Linked DNA regions of Homo sapiens: region 2 is linked to region 1. Evidence: promoter capture Hi-C in human tissues and cell types (Jung and others, 2019). All regions are on one chromosome and are shown on one strand. Each heading gives the region's core, a stretch centred on a gene start or on the middle of the fragment in contact. The rest is flanking DNA. Distances are from core to core; before and after follow the strand shown.

Region 1 (7,640 bases), core at 3,381-5,880:
ATTAGCTGGGCATGGTGGCACATGCCTGTAATCCTAGCTACTTGGGAGGCTGAGGCAGGAGAGTAGCGTGAACCTGGGAGGCAGAGGTATCAGTGAGCCGAGATTGCACCACTCCACTCCAGCCTGGGCGACAGAGTGAGACTCCATCTCGTAAAAGAAGGCCGGGCACAGTGTCTCACGCCTGTAATCCCAGCACTTTGGGAGGCCGAGGTGGGTGGATCGCCTGAAGTCAGTAGTTTGAGACCAGCCTGGCCAACATGGTGAAACCCCGTCTCTACTAAAAATACAAAAATTAGCCGGGCATGGTGGCACACGCCTGTAATCCCAGCTACTCGGGAGGCTGAGACAGAATTGCTTGAACCAGGGAGGCAGAGGTTGCAGTGAGCCAAGATCGTGCCACTGCACTACAGCCTGGGTGACAAGAACGAAACTCCGTCTCAAAAAATAAAAATTAAAAAAAGAAAGAAATGATTTGGGGGGCTGCTTTTTGTTAAAAGAGAAATTCCCAGGACTCTTTTACCCTCACTGTCTGCCAAAATAATTTCTATCTCCTGTATCACGACCACAACCTCCCAAAGTGCTGGGATTATAGGTATGAGCCACAGCACCTGGCCCCAGCTCATTGTTTTGTTTTGGTTTTTTTCATTTTTTAAAACTCATGATCATTGTTCAATGCATTATTATTATTATTATTATTTTGTTGTTGTTGTTGTTGTTGTTTGTTGTTTTGGTGTTGTTTTTTGTTTTTTGAGACGGAGTCTCGCTCTTATCGCCCAGGCTGAAGTGCAATGGCGTGATGTCATCTCACTGCAACCTCTGCCTCCCGGGTTCAAACGATTCTCCTGCCTCAGCCTCCCCAGTAGATGGGGTTACAGGCACCCGCCACCACGCCTGGCTAATTTTTGTATTTTCAGTAGAGACTGGGTTTCACCATGTTTGCCAGGCTGGTGTTGAACTCCTGACCTCATGATCCGCCCACCTCAACCTCCCAAAGTTCTGGGATTACAGTCGTGAGCCACCAGGCCTGGCCTATTATTATTATTTTGAGACAGGTTCTCACTCTGTCTCCCAGGCTGGAGTGCAGTTGCAGTGGCACAATCACAGCTCACTGTAACCTCAAACTCCTGGGCTCAAGTGATCCTCCTACCTCAGCTTCACGCATAGCTGGGACTACAGGCACGTACCAATGTGCCTAGTTAATTTTTTATTTTTTGTAGAGACAGAGTCTTGCTATATTGCCCAGGTTCATCTCGAACTCCTGGCCTCAAGTGATCCTCTTGCCTCAGCCTTCAAAGGCTTTGGGATTTCAGGCATGAGCCACTGTGCCTGGCCAAAGGTTTTATTTTACTCTTTTTTTGTTTTTTGTATTTTAGACAGAGTCTCGCTGTGACCCCCAGGCTGGAGTGCAATGGCGTGATCTCGGCTCACTGAAACCTCCGCCTCCTGGGTTCAAGTGATTCTCATGCCTCAGCCTCCTGAGTGCCTGGGATTACAGGCACGCACCATCATGCCTGGCTAATTTTTGTATTTTTAGTAGACACAGGGTTTACCATGTTGGCCAGGCTGGTCTCGAACTCCTGACCTCAAGTGATCTGCCTGCCTCGGCCTCCCAAAGTGCTGGGATTACAGGCATGAGCCACCGCACCCGGCCTATTTTACTCTTACACACACACATACATGTATGAATACACACGTCCTTCCCATTGTTGCTCCTGGGCTCTGATTGATCATTATGAAAGCTCTTTCCCTTCCCAGACCTTACAGAAATGCACACATACCCTCTTATTATTATTATTCTTTTTTGAGACGGAGTTTTGCTCTTGTTGCCCAGGCTGGGGTACAGTGGCACGACCTCGGCTCACTGCAACCTCTGCCTCCCGGGTTCAAGCAATTCTTCTGGGTCAGCCTCTGGAGTAGCTGGGATTACAGGCACCTGCCATCATGACCGGCTAAGTTTTTGTATTTTTAGTAGAGACAGTGTTTCACCATGTTGGCCAGGCTGGTCTCGAACTCCTGACCTCAGGTGATCCACCTGCCTCAGTCTCCCAAAATGCTAGGATTACAGGCATGCGCCACTACACCTGGCTGCACATAGCCTCTTCTAGTGTTCGCAGGGTGCATATTCACATCTCAGGTCCATTTGGAATTATTATTTTATTTTTTTGGAGACAGAGTCTCGCTCTATCCCCCAGAGAGTGCAGTGGCGCGATCTTGGCTCATTGCAACCTCCGCCTCGCCGGTTCAAGCGATTCCCCTGCCTCAGCCTCCCAAGTAGCTGGGATTACAGGCGTGTGCCACCATAGCCGGCTAATTTATTTGTATTTTTAGTAGAGATGGGGTTTTGCCATGTTGGCCAGATGGGTCTCGAACTCCTGACCTCAGGTGATTCGCCTGCTTCGGCCTCCCAAAGTGCTGGGATTACAGGCGTGAGCCACTGCACCGGGCATATATATGTATATTTTTTGTAGTAGTATCCAGTTAGCCCAAAATCCACTCCCTCCATGGATTTGAAACTGCAGAGAGGGGAGGCTATTTTGGCCAGGATGGTAGCATTTAGTCGACTCCTAAAGGAGCAGTTAGTCATAGGGAAGAACTGAGAGTAGGCGGCTCAGATAGCATATGCAAAGGCTCTGGGGCGGTAATGTTGTTGCCCTGTGCAAAGACCAACTGGGAAGCCTGTGGCTGGAGTACAGTGAATAAGGGGGATGGTGGAGGGAGTTGAGGGTGGACAGGTGAGGTGTTTGGCTTTATTCTGAGGCTGTGGGGGCACAAGGAAGGGACCAGCTCTGGTGCACAAAAGGTCCCTTCCATCTCGGGGATGGCATGCCCATTCGACAGATATGGAGACTGAGGCTTGCTGAGGCGCAGACAGGCACAGACAGGAGTCAAGGATGGTGCCTCCATTTGCTGGACTAGGAGCTGAGGCCGGGGGTCCTCTCGTTTCTCTCAGTGCATGGACGACGTGACCTCGCAGCCTTATTTGTGCACGATCACCCACAGCAGGATCCTTTCATCCTGCTGGTAGCTTAGCCTCAACTGCGTGTAGCAAGAAAGCTCTTCCGCTGCAGTGCTGAGCCGCCCGCTCCGCCCAGCCCCAGCCCCAGCCCCAGCCCACCCGGCGCATCTCAGCCTCTAGCCACGCCCCCAAACCCTCTGCACAGGTGCACTTCGCCCCGCTTCCACCTGATGGGGCAGCCTGGTCCTGCACTGCCCACCCAATAAAGATAGCCCCGCCCCATCAGGCGCATCCTGGACCCAAGTCCACTCCTCCCTATGGGCCGCTGTCTGGTCCCTAGCACCGGCTGACCTTTGCGCCCCGCCTTCTTTCTATACCGTGGATGCAGGAATAGCCTCGTCCCAAAACCTGCCCCTACATGTCCTTGCCGTGTGACCCCGGGAGTATCGTTTCACCTCTGAACCTCAGCTTTCCCCTCTCTACAGTGAGTGGGGGTCGAGCCCCCTCTGTGACTCGATTGATCCACTCCTAGCAGGCTGTTGGATCGACGATCTTTGAGGATGCAGGTTGAGCGCTCAGCATATCACCGGCGCTCAATAAATGGCCTTGTTTCTTCCGTTTGTCTGGAACAGGAGATGCAGAAATAGGCAGTAGTGGCTGGCCATGATGGCTCACACTTGTAATTCCAACACTTTGGGAGGCTGAGGCGGGTGGATCACCTGAGGTCAGGAGTTCGAGACCAGCCTGGCCAACATGGTGAAATCCCGTCTCTACTAAAAATACAAACATTAACAGGGCATGGTTGTGCACGCCTGTAATCCCACCTACTAGGGAGGCCAAGGCAGGAGAATCGCTTGAACTCAGGAGGCGGAGGTTGCAGTGAGCCGAGATGGCGCAACTGCACTCCAGCCTGGGCAACAGTGAGACTCTGTCTCAAAAAAAAAAAAAAAAAGAGCCGGGCGCTGTGGCTCACGCCTGTAATCCCAGCACTTTGGGAGGCCAAGGCGGGCGGATCACGAGGTCAGGAGATCAAGACCATCCTGGCTAACACGGTGAAACCCCGTCTCTACTAAAAATACAAAAACAAAATTAGCCCGGTGTGGTGGCGGGCGCCTGTAGCCCCAGCTACTCGGGAGGCTGAGGCAGGAGAATGGCGTGAACCCGGGAGGCGGAGCTTGCAGTGAGCCGAGATCGCGCCACTGCACTCCAGCTTGGGAGACAGAGCGAGACTCCGTCTCAAAAAAAAAAAAAAAAAAAAATTATGCGGGCATGGTGGTGCATGCCTGTAATCCCAGCTACTCAGGAGGCTGAGGCAGGAGAATCACTTGAACCTGGGAGGCAGAGGTTGCAGTAAGCCGAGATCATGCCATTGCACTCCAGCCTTGTTGACAGAGCGAGACTCCGTCTCAAAAAAAGAGAAAGAAAGAAAAAAAGAAATAGGCAGTAGTTGGAGAGGGCTGGCTGAGGAAGAAGCCAGCAGGTTGGGCAGGGGCAGAAGCCGGCCCTGAACCTCAGTTTTCTTATCTGTAAAAGGGACCTTCAGGCCAGGTACAGTGACTCATGCCTGTAATCCCAGTGGTTTGGGAGGCTGAGGTGGGAAGATAGCTTGAGGCTCCCCTCACTGGACAGCTAGACACACTTCCCTGCTGGACATTCTAAATTAAATTAGCCCCCTAAAAATGTAAGACACAGGCTGAAGGGTGGGGTCCCATCTCTACCTTGCCTTCACTGGCTGCAGGTCTGAGTGCTCATGGATTTTCTTTTTTTTTTTTTTTTTGAGACGGAGTCTTGCTCTGTTGCCCAGACTAGAGTGCAATGGCACGATCTCGGCTCACTGCAACCTCCACCTCCCGGGTTCAAGCGATTCTCCTACCTCAGCCTCCTACGTAGCTGGGATTTCAGGTACGTGCCACCACGCCCGACTAATTTTTTGTATCTTTAGTGGTGATGGGGTTTCACCATGTTGGCCAGGCTGGTCTCAAACCCCTGATCTCAGGATCCATCCACCTCGGCCTCACAAAGTGCTGGGATTACAGGCACGAGCCACCGCGCCCGGACGGTCATGGGTTTTCTTGTCATTGGTGGTGTTTTGAAACAGAGCCTCACTCTGTCACACAGGCTGGAGTGCAGAGGTTGATCACGGCTCACTGCAGCCTTGATCCCAGGCTCAAGTGATTCTCCCACCTTAGTCTCCCAAGTAGCTGGGACTATCGGTGTGCGCCACCACACCCAACTAATTTTTTTATTTTTAGTAGAGATGGGATTTCACTATGATGGCCAGTCTGGTCTCAAACTACCAGGCTCAAGCAATCTGCCCGCCTCAGCCTCCCAAAGTGCTGGGATTACAGGCGTGAGCCTCGGCACCTGGCCCAGACAGTCTTTTATTTATTTATTTTCCGAGACAGGGTCTCACTGTGTCACCCAGGCTGGAGTACAGTGGCACAATCATGGCTCACTGCAGCCTCTAATTCCTGGGCTCAAGCGATCCTCCCACATCAGCCTCCTAAGAAGCTTGGACCACAGGCATGCACCACCATGCCTGGCTAATTTTATTTTATTTTTTGTAGAGATGGGTTTTGCCATGTTGCCCCAGACTGGTCTCAATCTCCTGGGCTCAAGTGATCCCCTGGCCCCAGCCTCCCAAAGTACTGGGATTACAAGCATGAGCCACGGCACCCAGCCAAATTGGGATTTATAAAAACCTTTGTCAAGAGAGTGTAGGCTGGGCACGGTGGCTCACCCTTGTAATCCCAGCACCTTTGAGAGGCCGAGGCAGGTGGATCACTTGAGGTCAGGAGTTCAAGACCAGCCTGATCAACATGGTGAAACCCTGTTACTACTAAAAATACAAAAATTAGCAGGGCATGGTGGCGCATGTCTGTAGCCCCAGCTACTCATGGGGGCTGAGACAGGAGAATCACTTGAACCCAACAGGCAGAGGTTGCAGTGAGCCGAGATTGTGCCCTGCACTCTAGCCTGGGTGACGGAGTGAGAAACTGTCTCAAGAAATTTAAAAAAAGGAGAGTTTAAATGCTGGCCAAGGACCAAGGAAACCAATCAAGGGGCCTCAGGGTTCAAGCTTTATGTTTGGGGACAATCTTAGGCCATAGGATGGGGTGACCTCCCTGCCAGCCTTGTAGCCTACTCACTTGAGGCTCAGCGGTCCCTCCCTCAGACAGGGACCTCCATTCTGTCACCTACGATGACACCTTCTTTTCTTGTGGGATCCACTGTTTGGAAACGTGTGTAATCAATCCCAGCACTTTGGGAGGCCAAGGAGGTGGGCGAAATCACCTGAGGTCGGGAGTTCAAGACCAGCCTGGCCAACATGGTGAAACCCCGTCTCTACTAAAAATACAAAAATTAGTCGGACATGGTCGTGCGTGCCTGTAGTCCCAGCTACTCATAAGGCAGAGGCGAGAGAATCGCTTGAACCTGGGAGACGGAGGTTGCAGTAAACCAAGATTGTGCCATTGCACTCCAGCCTAGATGACAGAGTGAGACTCTGTCTCAAAAAAACAAAAACAAAAACAAAAACTTTTTTTTGGTAGAGACAGGATCTTGCTGTGTTGCCCAGGCTGGTCTCGAACTCCTGGACTCAAGCGATCCTCCATCCTGGGCCTCCCAAAGTGCTGGGATTATAGGCACGAGGCGCCATGCCTGGTTTATGGCTTCTGATTTTAATCTACATCTTGCAAAGCAAATATCTCTAACATTCATTTGCAAATGTCAGACATTCAGAGAAATGGACACACTCACCCATCACTGCTGGGAGCCAAGTAAGGTCCCCTGTATGGAAGGTGATGTGGTCTTAAGTATTCATCAAAAATGCTGAAAAGCTGGGTTCAGGGATGAATGCCTGTAGTCCCAGCTACTCAGGAGACTGAGGTGGAAGAATCACTTGAATCCGGGAGTTCTGGGCTGTAGTGCACTATGCCAATTGGGTGACTACAGTAAGTTTGGTGTCAATATGGTGACCTCCCAGGGAGCGGGAGACCACCACCAGGTTGCCTAAGGAGAGGTGAACCGGCCCAGGTTGGAAACTGAGTAGGTAAAATTCTTGTGCTGATCAGTAGTGGGATCACACCTGTGAATAGCCACTGCACTCCAGACGGGCAACATACTGAGACCCCTGTCTCAAAAAAAAAAAAAAAAAGGAAAAGGAGAAGGAGAAAACTTGAAAACGTGTGTTTGGCTGGGCTCGGTGGCTCATGCCTGTAAACTCAACACTTTGGGAGGCCGAGGCCGGTGATCACTTGAGGTCAGGAATTTGAGACCAGCCTGGCCAACATGGTAAAACCCCATCTCTACTAAAAACACAAAACTTAGCCGGCCGTGGTGGTGGGTGCCTGTAGTCCCAGCTACTTGGGAGGCTGAGGCAGGAGAATCACTTGAACCCAGGAAGTGGAGGTTGCAGTGAGCCGAGATTGCGCCACTGTACTCCATCCTGGGCGACAGAGTGAGACTGTCTCAGAAAAAAAAAAAAAAAAAAGAAAATGTGTTATTCTATTTGTTAGGCTGTCCCCAGAGAGTGACCTAGATGTCCAACCATAGGAGATCTGTTTAACAAACCATAGAAAAGCTTCAAGGTGAGTGATGCTGAAGTCTCTGAACTCAAGAATGTACACTGGAATTTGGCCTTGACTGACAAATCATGTGTATAGTGTAATTCCATTTGGGCTAA
Region 2 (7,640 bases), core at 2,754-5,253, 350 kb after region 1:
CGGGGGGCGCTGAGGCCGGCCTGGGCGTGAATCAGCGGCAGGCCAGGCGTCCGGGAAGCCACAGCAGCCGAGGTCAAGGCGGGCAGCGGACAAGCACCCTTTGTCCCTTGCCGCCCTCACCACGACCCTGCTGACCCCCACCTCCAAGCAGGGTACAGGCCAGGGAGGAGGCAGAGCACCATGGCGCCGGTGGTGGTTGCTGAGGGTTGTTGGGGGAGGACGGAGGGATGTGGCTGTCCCCCTAAAGCAGCTGGTGCCTCCTGGGACCCAGACTTCAGAGGCTTCTCAGGGTACAGACGGGCAGGGAAACTGGCCTCCCTGGGGCAGGCCTGCAACTTCCCAGGCAGGTCCCCTAGGCAGGTCTGCAACTCCCCAGGTCCCGCCTCCAGTGCCTGAAGTCCAGTGTGCATTACACTGAGCACCCAGGCATTGCTTCTCCCCAGGCTCAGCCTCCAGGGCAGAAATTATAAAGCCTAGGTACACACGGGCCCCACTTTCCTGTGCCACAGACCCTGAACCAGGTGTCCAGACCCTCACTGCCCCTTAATTCCTGAAAGCACCTGCCTGGAACACCAGGTAGCTAATCCCATACTGGGGAGCCCTGAGCACGGGGCTTTCAGAATGGGAGAGACAGCTCTCAGCCTTCCTCACTCCCAGTGGTTGTGGGTCCCCACAGGACCCTGAAGGTGCCATTTCCACTGCCCCCTCCCTGGTGCACCCTCAGTGCCCTGGAATCACGAGGGAGCTGGGGATGGAGGCCCCCCCCCCAACCTAATACCTCTCATCCAGAGGTGACCTTGGAGTGGAGGGTGCAGGACTAAGGAGGGGTCCCTCCCCCAGCCCAAGGGGAGGCCCTCCCTCTGCCCAAGGGGAGGCCCTCCCTCCTTCTGCCCCTTACACATTCCCAGCCAACTTCAAGGACTTGGGTCAATATTTGCCAGAAGTTCCATTGACGCTAGCTCCCTTTTGTCCTCAAGGAGATAATGGAACTGGGGAGTAAAGGGTTAAACTTCTGGGGGCCCTAAGGGCCGGGAAGGATGCACTCTGGGGTCAATTCCCTTTCCCTGAAGTCAAAGGTGTGGGGTAAAGATCACCCAAGGGCAGAAGTCACACTCCAGGGTGGGGCTGGGCAGGATTGGAAAATGGTCCTTCCCTTCTGTTGGTAAGAACAAGAGAGGGATGTCTACTGGCTAGGGTCACACAGCAAGACACAGAGTGTGGGCCAGGCTAGGACCCCAGGCAGCATGACTTGCTAGGACTGAGTTTTCTTGCTACTTGGAGGGAGTAAGAGTTCTCCATCCTTTACTTTTACAAATATTTAGTGAGTGCTTCGCTTTCAGCCCTCACTGGGCCCACCACTGGGGTCCAAAGGGGCTGAGGCTGCCCACAGTCTAAAGAAAATCAGTTGCACAAGAAATGAAATGGTTGGAAGAGTTGTGTTTCAAAAACAATAAAACAAAGTGAAGGAGAGGGAGAGTGCTGGGGGAAGGGTGGAGGGCCTCTCTGAGGAGGTGGCACTAATCCTGTGAAGTGATGGAAGAGAAAGGGCCAACTGGGGAAGATGTGGGGAACAGCATTCCAGCAGAGGGAACAGCCAACACGCAGAGGCCCTTCTATAGTAACAAGCCTGGTATGTTTTGGGAAACAGGGCTCCAGTGGCTGGGGCGGAATGAGGGAGAGGAGGGGGAAGAGGAGAGGGAAGAAGAGGAGGGGAGAGGATGGCGAGAGGGTGGCAGGACAAAGATCTGCTTTTTCTTCTTTTAAAAGCTCCCTCTGCCTGGTGTGCCGAGAAAGGCAGAAGGGTTATCAGGGAGGCCCTGGAGGAGGCCGGGAAGCATCCCTGAGGGAGACCGTGGGGCCTGGATCTGAATGGGGTGGGAAAAAGGGGTCAGCATCTCAGAATGGAGATGTGTTTTAGAATCAGAGCCAACAGGATTTGCTGATGAATTGGACATGAGGGATGAGCAAAGGAGAGAGTTGTCACGTGCGCTTCCAGGTCTCTGGCCTGAGCACCTGGATGGATGGGAGAGCCCTTTCCCAAAACCAAAATGACTGGAAGAGAAGCAGAAATGGAGGGAGGAAAAAATCAAGGTTTTGCTCCAGAAGCCTGAAGTCCTCCCAGGAGGGAGTGAGGCGTCTCTATCCACACAGAGAGCATCTGCAGACAGGAGCCATGGGGGAGTAGTGGTGAGTATCCTAAAAACTCAATTCCAGCCAAGGACTGCCACCTCCACTTAACCCTCTGGGTCCCCTGGCAGGTGGGACTATGGCTCCATGTTTCAGAGGGGACAAGCAGGGCTGGGGGTCACCTCTGCTCCAGGATATCCTCCAGTGCTGTGCTAAGGGCTTGGATTGTAGAGACTTCTGCTGCCCTGCGTCTTCCCACAGAAGCTCCTAGACTGGGTGGTGCCCACTGTGCAGAGGAAGAAACTGAGGCACAAAAGGCCTGGTTTCCCGAAGTAAATGGCAGCGTCTCTCCTTGTCTGTCTTCTCCATCCAGAATTCAGATGGAGCAGGGGCGCCCTGGGCCCCTATAGGCTCCCATCCCCCAATCTTGTTTTTTGACAGTCTGGAGTCTGAACTGGAGATTTAAGTAGGAGAGGGTGGGGCTTCAGTCTTGGGCAGACAAATGGGGGCTCCTGAGCCCCCCTCAGACACTTTTACCCCCTTGGCTGGTTGGGGACCAGGAGAGAGAATCCAGGCCTCTAAGGGACTCCTGGAAAAGGGGACTTGGAGCCGTTCCCTTCCCTGGGCGCTGCAGCTGGGGGCGGGGCTGCGACCAAAAGTGGGTAATTGCACCCCCCAACTCTCATTTCAGGCACCCCCATCCGCAGCAGCCTTGGAGGCCAGGAACCCTTTATTCCTGGGCGCCCGCATCGGGTGGGGACCGGGAGGAGGGAGATGAGACGCCCGGACCGGGAGGGGTCCCGAAACTCGAGCAATGGCCAAAAATAATAACACGGAGAAGGCTCTTTGCGCAAAAGAAGGAAGACAAACTATGCGTCGCTCCGGGCAGCCGGCGTTACCTGGAGTCGGCGGGCGGTGGCCGCCGAAGCGATTACTCACCGCGTGGCGCACCCCACCCGCGGGCCGCTGAGTGGATTTTTCCGTGGCGGGGTGTGAATAGGTCCCGGGGAAAGAGCTTCTTACCGCTCTCCTCCTGGGAATCCCTCTTACTGCGGTGCGGGACCCAGTTCCCGCGCAGGCCTGGGTCCCGGCTCCCACAGGGGACTACATCTCCCCGTCTGCCCACGCAGGAGCTCCCTCCCGAGGCCCCCGGGGCGCCCAGAGCAACCTCAAACCCATCCCGCGCGCGAAGGGGACAGCGCAGCCAGGGCGAAGGCGAGGGACTCCGTGCCTTCCTGCTTTTTCTCCTTTCTTCCAGCAAAGCCTGGGGCCGAGGCTACTCGCGGAGAATCGAAAAGAGGCAGGATGAGGTGGGAGGGCTGGAACCCGCGCGCCGAGGGCGTGGGGCTGGGGGTGACTTTTAGGCCCCTGGGAAGGCTGAGGGGCTGGAGATGGGGGTAGGCGGGACTCAAGGACCGCTCGGTGGGGGGGGCGGGGCCAGAGCTGGGGTGGGGGCCGAGACAGAAGATTGGGCCGTGGAAGGGGGAATGGAGGAGTGGGGCAGGGTTGGGGACCAAAGGGGCCACTGAAGAGGCACTGGGCTGAGAGGAGGGTGCAGGGAAGTGGGCAGGGTTATGGAAACGGGATTGGGGGTGCCGGGTCCCAGACTGGGGGTGGGAAGCCTGGAGCTGGCAGGGTTGGAGAGGGAGGTCCTGGGCCGGTAGGGGTTGAGTTAGGGGGCTTTGGGCCGCGGGATAGGGCGCGCGCGGTTCTCGGTGGGGCGGAGGCGGGACGGGCGGGGCGCGCGGTGCCCGCGGGCGGGCGGGCGGCGGGGAGGCCGGTGCGGGGCCCGCCGCCCCCCCGGGGCCGGGCCGGGCCGGGGGCGGGGCCGGGCGGGGCCAGCGGCGCATTAGCGCCTTGTCAATTCGGCTGCTCAGACTTGCTCCGGCCTCCGCGTCCGCGCCCAGCGACGTGCGGGCGGCCTGGCCCGCGCCCTCCCGCGCCCGGCCTGCGTCCCGCGCCCTGCGCCACCGCCGCCGAGCCGCAGCCCGCCGCGCGCCCCCGGCAGCGCCGGCCCCATGCCCGCCGGCCGCCGGGGCCCCGCCGCCCAATCCGCGCGGCGGCCGCCGCCGTTGCTGCCCCTGCTGCTGCTGCTCTGCGTCCTCGGGGCGCCGCGAGCCGGATCAGGAGCCCGTGAGTACCCGGCGCCCCACTCCTTCCCCCCTGCCAGAGCAGAGGGCGGGCGCCCCGGGGGCAGCCGCGGGGGGAGGGGGCGCGGGCGCCACCTGGACGGCCGGGGAACAAAGGAAGGCGCCCCCGGCGCAGCCCTCGGGGCGCCCTCACCTGCGGGGCACACGGCGCCGCAGTCCACTGTCCAGAGAGTCCTGCTTCCGCGCCCGAGGCCCTGTTACCTGGGCAGCTGGGCCGAGGGCGCCAGGCCAGGCCCCCGGGGGCTGGGGGGATCGCGGCCTGAGACCCTCTGCATGCCAGGACGTGGCGGGCGCACGCGTCTGCTTCGGTGGACTCTGGGCCCCTGGGACTGCAGGGCACCGCTCCCAGGCGGGGGCGCACGCGGTTGGCGCGCTGGGTGCGGGCCCCCAGCGGGCCCCCCCAGGCGGAGGGATGAGCCCCACGGGGAGGGCGGGGCTGCAGGGGGGCCGCTCTGGCCGCCTGGCGCGCAGCCCGGGGTCCCGGGGGACTTGTGTCTCCACGGGCCGGCGCCACCGCCCTCCCCCTGCGGGACCCGGCGCACGGGGGTCCGCGGAGTCCCCGCCACCGGCGGCGCTTAGAACCGTTTTCAGCCAGGCTGCGTCGGGCGGAGAGCCTCCAGCGAGAGGAATCTTTGTGAGCGAGTGGGTGAGAGGGAGAGGGAGCGGGAGCCAGTGAGTCCGGGCACCAGCGGGCCCAAACTTTGAGGGGGCCCACTGGGAACCCGCTGCCCTACGGGCCAAGACCCCTGCCCTGGAGGGACTTCTGGCCTCAGGCACTCTGGGGCCCCCCATCCAAGGAACACCCCCGCAAGGATACGTCTCCGTATGCAGACCCGCTCTGGGACACACCCAGAGACACACAAAGAATCACACTGGCTTGTGGCCCGTCACCCTCGCCCTCAAACTCGCGCACACTGCATCCCAGGTGCACATTCGCGCACCATCGCGGACGCACACACATTCCATCCCCGACACACACATTCACGGTCACACACATCCCACAGGGGAGGCGACCCAGGGGCACAGAGGCAGGCACCACTCGCCCCAGATGTTCAGTCACTCCACGCACCCCATCCAGGCGCACGGGCCACCCCGGGGGTCGCCGGGCACACACTGCTCCCAGGCTCATCCACCCTGTGCTGGGCTGTTTGCGGGCTGCCTGTAGGGCTCCTCCGGGAAGGGGCAGGGTCCGGGCATCTTCTAGGGGCACTTGCTGAAAGCCTGGCTCTCCCCTGGCTTTCAGGTGAGGGGCTACCTCGGGCCCTCCCAGGGCCCCTGACGGCTCTGCCAGGCGGTGGGCAGCGCCTGTGAGTGCCACTGTGAGCGCCAAGCTTTGTTTTCAGCCAGTAGAGCAGCAGGCGAAGGTGTAGGGGGTGGGGGGGCACTGTAAGTGTGTTTTTTCCTTTAAGGGGGGAAGAAATTAAATAAAAGATTCTCACACCTCGGCAATATGTTTCTACTTACGGTGTGTCTTAGCACCTGACCAGCAGGCGGGTGGGTCGTAAAGTGTCTGCAGGTACCAGCGGGACGGGAGATGGGGACCCCCGTGGGGACCCTGGGATGGAGGCCACCCTTCCGCCCTGCTTGCAGAGAATCTCACACTTTTCCCTTTTAAAACACATGGTGTTCCTTTTTAATAACGGCAGTGGCTCCAGATTGGGAAAAGAGGAGAGAAAAAACTTTTAAAGGCCCCAGCTCTGCGGGAAAGGAGGGGAGGCAGGGAGTGAAAAGGGAGCTGTTCAAAAGCCCAACCTAGGGATCTGCTTTGGGGAGCCCTAGGAGGCCCTCCAAACCAAGCCAAGCCCCCACCAACTCCGGCTCAGTGGGCTGTTCCCAGCTGCTCCCCTGCCTGGCCTGGAGTGCGTGCATCTCTGTCCCCAGCGCCTTAGCCCATTGTTTGTGGAGGCCTGGAGGGAGTGCCTAGTCAGCCGGGACCCCAGAGCTGGGAGGGGCTGTCATCTTTGCAGCTCCTGGGGGCTTCAGGCTTCTGAGCCCTCTGGACATTGGATTGCAATCACATCTCATTGATCTCCCCAGCAAGTAGAACGTATTTCTCCTCCCATTTTATGGAGGAGAAAATTGAGAACTGGAGAGGGGAAGTCAATTGGCCAGGTTCTCCCACTGGTGTTGCGCCCATATCCCGGGAGGAGAAAGTGTCCTTCTGACCTTACCGGCTGGGGCTAAGGGGGTGGGAGATTGGTCTGTCCAGGCCCGCCTGGCCTTGCCTTCCCCCTACAACCCGTCGCCGCCCGGTGTCCCCCGCCCAGCCCCGGGAGGGCAGCTGCAGCTGCTGGCAAGTGAGCCACGCCGGCCCAGGCCAGGCGGGTGTGGCAGAGGGGCAGCGCCCCCCAGCCAGGACCCCCCAGAGAGCCCCTTCCTGCCCAGGCCAAGCTGGCGGGTGGTGGGGGCAGGAGGAGTGAGACCCACTCTAGAAGGGCTGAGAGGGGCCTGGGGTCTGGGCAGGCCTGGCCGTGCCTCCCACTCTGTTGGGGGGGCCCAGGCAGGAAGCGGTGGGTGGGCCGGGGCAGAGACGCTGGCACACCCGAGTTCATGCAAAAGGAATTCCGAATTAGCGGGCGGCTGGCTGCCTGGGACCTCCAGGGCGGTCCCCTGGCCCCCAGCCCCCCGCCCCCCTCGGCCGCCCCCGCCTCCTCGGCTCTGGCCCGCTCAGCCGGCTCCTTCGCACGGACGCGGAGACCTCCGGCGAGCCCTGGGCCAAGCCCCAAGCGCAACTGCGATTCCAGGCTCCAGCGAGACAGAGCCCTCGAGCCAAGTTTGCCCCGGAAAATCATCAGGGCCGGCCCAAGAACCGTGTCCACCCCACCTCGCCCATCTGGGGCAGTGAGGGCAAGTGCAGGGCAGCGCTGGCATTCAGGGGGCCTCCCTGGGGGCCAGGATCACCCTGTCCTTGGCTGCCATCTCTGCGAAGCTGGGCTGCCCCTGCCTCCTGCAGTCCCTTCTTCCAGCCGCCTGGGGAGTCCTTTTAACGCATATCTCACCGCATCCCTCCCTCCCCGGCTGAGAACCCTGGAATCCCTCCTCCCTGCAGGTCAGGGTCTCTGACCTCTCAAACCTCATTTCCCACCGCTTCTGCCCCAGGACCTTGGCACTTGCAGCTCCCACTGCCTGGACATGCTCTGTTAGATAATGTCACAGCTACTTCTCTTACTTTATTCAGGTCTCTGCTCAAAGGTCACCTCCCCAGACAGGCCTCCCAAGCTTCTGCCGCTGCTCTGTCTTCCTCCAGCCCCTGCTTTACTTTCTCCCCTAGTTATTGTCTTAGATATTTATTTATTCCTTTTTCCTGCTGCTTCCTTGGATTTGATGCCCACAAGGGCAGGACTTTTGTGTGTCTTGGGCATC

The links. The method cuts DNA at HindIII sites, captures the fragments that hold promoters and counts their contacts. A contact is called where the count stands out against the background at its distance.
Region 2: the fragment with the promoter of CRLF1 here is called in contact with a fragment that was not itself captured in region 1 in 2 of the 25 tissues and cell types used here (dorsolateral prefrontal cortex and lymphoblastoid cells).

The regions. Positions count from the first base shown.
Region 1 is chr19:18,957,413-18,965,052 of GRCh38, reverse strand. It overlaps the pseudogene RN7SL70P. Among named protein-coding and RNA genes, the nearest start is that of HOMER3, 20 kb to the right of the region's middle. The HindIII fragment of the contact is 4,315 bases long and covers 2,473-6,787 here.
Region 2 is chr19:18,603,162-18,610,801 of GRCh38, reverse strand. CRLF1 (cytokine receptor like factor 1) reads left to right here and starts at 4,003. Exons shown (of 9, transcript NM_004750.5): 1 at 4,003-4,260. The coding sequence starts at 4,146. RefSeq lists an enhancer at 3,963-4,881. The HindIII fragment of the contact is 9,492 bases long and covers 1-6,552 here.